Linked DNA regions of Homo sapiens: region 2 is linked to region 1. Evidence: promoter capture Hi-C in human tissues and cell types (Jung and others, 2019). All regions are on one chromosome and are shown on one strand. Each heading gives the region's core, a stretch centred on a gene start or on the middle of the fragment in contact. The rest is flanking DNA. Distances are from core to core; before and after follow the strand shown. Region 1 holds the start of MSANTD4 (Myb/SANT DNA binding domain containing 4 with coiled-coils). Region 2 overlaps GRIA4 (glutamate ionotropic receptor AMPA type subunit 4).

Region 1 (3,499 bases), core at 557-3,056:
GTTACTGTAGTAACATATAAATATATAACCAATATAAGTATATAATAAAAATGATTGAAGTTGTCGAGAGTCCAAATTTATGCAGATATCCACCGTAAGATTTTGCTCTTAGAATCTGAGATCAATTTAGAAATCGCATTGTTGTAAATGTATTGGTACATGGTAGAAATAGCAGTCCTTTTGAAGTACCACTGAGTCAATATATTTTTAAAGTTTGACAGCAGCTGTTGCTATTTGCAGGGCCTATTTTTGACCAACAATTCCTAACTCCATATCTCTAACTTACAAAGTGGTATCCCGTTGTCCTGACTGATCTATTCTGAACTGATGAACTATTTCATTTAATCAAATGGGCTTTAATACATTTTTAACCTGACTGAAATTGATATTGGGATGCACCTTAGATACCCAGTCTTGGCTTAATTGTGTGAAAATCTTCTTCTAAAACCTTGATATTTTCTGATTAAGTGCAAGAAAGTGCCAGCATTGATGCATCTTGAGTTGTTGAAGTTCTGTAGATATGCTTACCTGGATAAAAGCCATTTCCAGAAATGTTTGTCTTCCTGTCCTCTCCTTTATATGCCGGTATCCAAGTAACAGAAGCTTGGGTTTTCTACCATCCATTCATTCCCCAATAATTTCCTCAAAAAATACTTACTGAGCTCCTACTGTGTGAAAGGCACTATTTTTGGTGCTGGGGATATAACACCTCATAAAATGTGAAAATATGTCATTTTAGATGTCAAACACTATCCCTTTTCTATTGCCTGTCATCGCTCTCTTAGCAGAAAGGATTCAACAGCTGCAGTCTCTAAAACTTACAAACCTTCTATGCCCAATCACAGAGAACAGCCATTTTCTAAAATCCCATTTCACAATCGTTCTTCACTAGTTGGAAACAGGAATGAGATGTAGTTCACTTACGTAATCCTTGTGAAGATGATGTACTGCCAATGGCATAATATAACCAGGCAACTTTTTACAAGCACTAAAACTTGAGAATGAAGTTCCTAGATACTTCATGATAAGTCAGAATTAAGAAGTCTGAGAAAAACCAGACGGCAAGTTCCGGATCAAAAAAATTTGAGGGTAAATTAGTTAAGCAGTTCAAGAAGAAAAGCATCACAAATCTACAATATCAAACCCTACCCAAATTCTCTTTAAAGTGTGGCTTTCCCCTCCCCTATATTCTTATAGGGGATTCACTTCCCTGCCAAAAAGTATGTTCTTCTCTAAAACTCGTGGTAGGTGCATAACAAGTATACTTATGGGTCGACGGTTATCAAAGTATCTTTCACCTCCCTCCCGCTGCCTCCTTTGGGACCGTCCAAAAAGAGCCCCTGGGAAGAATCGAGTTAGACTGGGCTCCCGGAAGGCCACCCAGGGGAGCAGGGGCGCGCACCTGCCTCGGCCACAATGATGAGGTTGCTGCTGGTAGGAGTCCCGGTGGGAGTCGGGGCAACCTGGAAGATCTCCTCTCTCTGGGTATTAAATGAGAGTCCCGACTGAGTGCCCAGAAACTTCTGCAGTCTTGTTTCCGTGGCCTGGGCCCTCCCCAGCCTCCCCGGTCAGGCGACAGACGCGCGTGGCACTTCTCCCGAGCGTGCAGTCCCGCTACGTCGCAGCCCTTGGACCAAACCCGGCAGCAAGCGTTGCGCCAATTGCCGCTGACCCCTCCGGGACCCTACCCACTGCGAGGGCACCCACTGGTCACGGAGCCGCCGCTTCCCTGGCCGCCTCCTCCAGCATAGAACCGCTCACCTGCGACCCCGGCGGCACCTCCCCACGGTCGCCCCAAGGGGGGTAGGAAAAAAGATGCTTCATTGATCCCCCGCCCACTAACTGGGCCCGCCCATCTCCCGCCACCCCAATGGCTCATATGGCTGCCGCTCATTTGATGAGTCTCATCCATTGGTTAGAATGGTGTAGCCATTCTGGCTGAGAGCCCGCCCTAGGCCTGGCCTCACAATGGGAATCAAGTCCCAAACCGGTTCCGGGTTAGTGCCCTGGAATTCCGCCCCCTCGTGATTCACCTCCCTGTCTGTGCCCCGTCTGTGGCGCGCAGCTCTGTCAGTCAAGTGGACTCTAGGAAGGGATTGGCCCCTAGAGATCCGCTTGCTGCGCTGTTCCAACTGATTGGGGCACTGGCCGCTGCATCTCCAAACTCGTCTCTTGTCCTTGACCCTCACCTGTTAAAAGGGCAAAGAAGAAGTAGGAAACTTGTGCTGCTCCAGTCGGGTTCTTAGGCCAGCATCACCTTCTCCTCGACCAGCTGCGACCTAATTGGCCTCAGCCATTCCTCTAAGGCTGCCCGTGCCAAAGGTCGCTGGTGACTTCCTTATGGCTAAATCTAGGAGTCACTTCTTAGTCCTTATCATACTATATACTTCCCAGAAGACATTTGAATTTTTTTTTTTTTTTTTTTTTTTTTTTACCATTCTTCACTGTTTCCCCAAATATGTGCTTCTGCTTTCTTCTCTCCCAGTCCTCCTCTATATTCAAGTTTGCAGTTGCTTATTTTCTGCCGTCTCACGTTCAGGTGTTTGTGATTAGTGCACCTTTCTTCCCGCTGCCTCTGTCCAGGCCTCTGTGGACTCACCTGAATTCCATCAGTAGCCTCCTAGCTGGTCTCCCAACATCCTGTCTGCCGGACTGTAGTTCATTCTTCACGTTGTAGCCAAAATGAGCTGCTTAAAGTTTTTTAGTGGAATCTCACCACTGGTGATACAGTACAAACTCCTTATCGAACCTGAAAAATAAGGCACCTACTTTTCCCTCAACCTTCATCTCTCGACATTATACCCACATTTCTTCTTCCTTACCCCATTCCCTTTGCTTCTTTCAGTTCCTGAACTCTACAGTGGCTACTGGGAAGTCAGTTTGCATTGCTGTGTTTCCTCCCTGCTTCTCCGCTATGCCTAGCATTCATTTTTAGAAATTCCTTTCTAAAGGAAGGCTTCCAAAATTATCTCCATTCACCCTCCCTCCACTTCCAAGTATTCCCTTCCCTGTAGGTTTGCCAGATAAAAACAGGACGCTCAGTTAAATTTGAAGTTCAGATAAAAAGCAAATAATTTTTAATCTGTCCAATGGAATATTTGGTATCCATATGTTTATTTGCTAAATTTAAAAAAATAAAAATTTTTGTTTACTAAATCTGCAAGCCTACTTCAGCGAGCTCTCATCACGGCCTTTCCTCTGACAGCACTTCCCACATATTTTATGTGGGTGGGGCTTTTCTTGTTTACTGTTGTGAATAACACAGTGCCTAGAATGTAACAGACAAAAAAGATTTGGTAAATAAATGGTGGAATATTCTGGAGGAATGGTGCATCCTTGCTGGATATTCTTGGAGGAACTCTCCCATAAAATAGGAAGTAATTATGAAATATGCTCTTTAAAATGTAATGATCAGATTGATCTTACAGATTGTTACTTATGACTTTGTCAGTAAGTATAGACATGTTTGTCAAAGAAGCATGTCTATACTTTTGCCAAA
Region 2 (3,499 bases), core at 561-3,060, 70 kb before region 1:
GAAGGGAAATGAAAATTCAAAGATGAGACTGAGTTTTTGTGGTTGGGCCTTGTTATTTTGGTATTCATTTTTACAGTCCTATTTCTTCTGTGTAAAATCTCCTAATTCATTATACTGAAGCTTCTATATGGTACTGTTCTTGGGACCCAAGATTACATGTCTCAAAAGATTAGAACTTAAATCAATAAGAACTTTGTATGTATGAAAAAAAAGACATTTTAACTTTGGAAGAAAATCTTACCATCTAGTTAAATCAAGTCATTTCATATAGATATTGGTAATGCTTTTCAAAGAAAATTATCTACTACCCTTCCTTCTTGGGTATTTAGGCTGTATCTGTTCAGTTGACAAGACCACCTGCCTTTCAAGTTTTTTCTCAGCTCAAGGAGTATTTAGCCTGAGAGAACTGAAATTGCCATCTTACAATGGCTTCCAAAACTTAATCAGGCATAGACCCTACCAAGCCTGACAAACTTCCCAGGAAAAAGAAAATTTCCCACAGAGAGCCATAGAAGGATGAATATATAGTTTAGCTATACAGGGAAGAGTCATGATAGGAAACCAAAGGTATCCTGGTACTGTAGGAAGAACACTGGACCAGAAGGCAGAAGACCTGTGCCCCAGCTGGACTTTGATGGACAAGTCACCTAACTTTCATTAGGCCCCAGGGACTGCATCCTAGGGCCTAATAAGAAGGATGGGCATAACCTCTAACCTACATTTTGATTCAAAAATTCTGGGATTCTAAGTCTTTAAAGCAATTGATGAAAGTTTTTAGGAGTCAGCAAAGAATGGGAAAAGTAAAGATGATCTGTGGACCATGGAATGGAATTCTGGAAATCACATAAGGAGATGAAGAAATCAAGAGTAAGAGACAGTGGGGGAGTCCACACAGCAAATCCTGGTCCAGGCAGGGCATCTGCATGAAAGACACAGTACTGTTGAACAGCTCACATGCTGTTTATGTAACAGAGACCAGTTCTTATATTTTAAAATTATATTTTACCTACTTTAAAGCAAATTTACTTTAGAATAATAATAACCACAACTTGAAAAATGAATGCTATTCAGAGATAACTTGAAGAACTTCACTAGCTAGGCATGGTCTCATTTGAAACAAAGCTTTCATATGTATAATTTGAGCACAGTGATAACAACAAGGGAATGGCCTGAGGCAGGGACTTTACTGAGTATAGTCTCAAACACCCCAAGGCCACCACAAATAAATAAAATGTGTGGTATGAAATATGAATAGTTGATATTTTCTCAATATTATATAACTGAAGGCATCTTTTCACATTTTTTTTTAAATTTTTATTGGTTTCACATTCAGTATTTAAAAATGGGAGTGGGTATGGTGGCTCACACTTGTAATCCCAGGCAGGTGGATCGCTTCAGCCCAGGAGTTCGAGACCAGCATGGGCAACATGGCAAAACCACATTTCTACAAAATATACAAAAATTAGCTGGGTATGGTGGTGTGCACTTGCAGTCAATCTTAGCTACTCAGGAGGCTGAGGTGGGAGGATCACCTGAGCCTCGGGAGGTCAGGGCTGCAGTGAGCCATGATCATGCCACTTCACTCCAGCCTGGGCAACAGAGTGAGACCCTGTCTCAAAAAATAAAAATAATAAAAAATTAAAATGTTCTGCATATGATGCAACTGTACAATGATCACAGATTGAGGCTAGTACTTTGGAAATCCCTTCTCAATAAATCAGTCTTAAAACCTCTGCTCTATTAACATTCTGAGCCACCAGGTGTCATAGAAATGTTTTTATTTCGCTTACCTTTAATAGACAGACTTAGAAGTCATCACTATTTTTAAAATAAATGTTATTCGAATTTAGAACAGATATATTTTTAATCTGTGTTCAAGTTGCCCTTCCAAGGTCTGTGAACCCCTGAAATTATGTATAAGTCTGGGGTTTTGTAAGTTTTTGCATTTCTTCCTGAGAAAGTATTTGTACTTTCATTGAATTCTAAAAGAGAACCATGACCCAAAGTAGGTAAAAAAATTCTACTCTGTGACCTAAAATTGACAAAATCATGAAGCTAAGTTTCATGAAATATTTGTAAATATTACCTAAAAAATACTCAACACTAAAAATGTAATTAAAATTTTCATTGATCAAACTCCCTAGCTAATGCTCTGGCTAAGTTCCTGGGAGATATCCTAACAAAAATCACAAAGCTCCTTCAAGGAATAACATTCCTCAGATCCATGTCTCAACTAGAAATTAATCATGCAAATTCCAATGAACATGCAATTTAGAGACAATTGCTGGAATCCAGACAAGTATCTGTGTAACTTGTTCAGCTCTCCTTGACTCAACTTGGAATATGAAATACAAAGGTTTCCACACTAACTTAATTACATATATGTCATCTAAAACCCAAACCAAAGACACTAAATCCTTCCTTATCAAAGTAGTTTTCAAGTGCTCATTGCAAATCATGCTGGGTCTGAATTGTCTTTCCACTTACAAAAATTTTTCTCTCCTTATTTTAATATTAAATTCCTGATCAATAGTACCATTTAATGCAAATCTTACTTGTCATCGCATAGGCAAACTGGAGTAAAAATTCAATATCTTTTCTAAAAACTTTTTGCATATATATGTAGAGCAATCTAGCCCAAATTCTGCCTTTGGAAATGAGTGCACAAATCCAATGAAGCAAAAAGAGCCTTGTGCTTGTCTACTGGAATGAATAATTTGGGAAGAAAAGTAATAACACAGCTACAAGTTAAATTGAAAACTTAGTGGAGCATTGATAATGCTGAAAACTGGCTACTCTTCGAGGCTAAATAGTTGATAAAGGGTAGAATTGCGAATGCAAAAGCCTTTCCTTAAAATTAGACATATTTAGTTCTTCACTCTTCATCATTTGACAGCCTATTGATTCTTATTTACTTTTTGTGTTTTCTTGATTAATAAAATAGTCATTTTTTCTCAGTAGGTCATTAATTGACTTTACACAGAGTTCTGGGGTTGTTGTAAATTCTCAGCTTTTTTGCTTACTTGCTCCATTCACCTTTATCTGGAAGATGTCATTAATTAAACTACAAAAGTAAATCCTACATGATATTTGCTTCTCTCTACCTATTTCATCTTGTTATATGGAATACGCATAGAACTTTTGTGAAAATACTGACAATGCAGCTATATTTAATAACAGAATGAATAGTCTATGTAGAGTTGGTTATTCATATTTCATGAAATTACTATTTTCTTATTAGCATGGTTCTGGGAAAACTGTAGCACATATACATGTATACACATACACACACACACACACATATATATACATACATACACACACACACACATTTGCTGCTAACAAAGCTTAAATCAAATGAGTTTTCCAATCTGGAATTTTAGTTTGATTTCAAGAAAGGTATAAAATAAATATGTAGCATGATAGAATATAAAAATAAATTGTATTTTTTAACTCCTACAAACAAATAAAAAAAAAAGACTTTTTCTTAGGGTCTCTA

What was found. Contacts are between HindIII fragments. The study calls those that stand out against the background at their distance.
Region 2: a contact is called between a fragment that was not itself captured here and the fragment with the promoter of MSANTD4 in region 1, in 2 of the 25 tissues and cell types used here (H1 embryonic stem cells and hippocampus).

What each region holds. Positions count from the first base shown.
Region 1 is chr11:106,020,434-106,023,932 of GRCh38, forward strand. MSANTD4 (Myb/SANT DNA binding domain containing 4 with coiled-coils) reads right to left here and starts at 1,807. Exons shown (of 3, transcript NM_032424.3): 1 at 529-1,807. RefSeq lists enhancers at 1,329-1,448, 2,279-2,348 and a silencer at 1,779-1,888. The HindIII fragment of the contact is 5,723 bases long and covers 1-3,499 here.
Region 2 is chr11:105,950,347-105,953,845 of GRCh38, forward strand. All of the region lies in intron 14 of GRIA4 (glutamate ionotropic receptor AMPA type subunit 4), which reads left to right. Among named protein-coding and RNA genes, the nearest start is that of MSANTD4, 70 kb to the right of the region's middle. The HindIII fragment of the contact is 3,763 bases long and covers 1-3,499 here.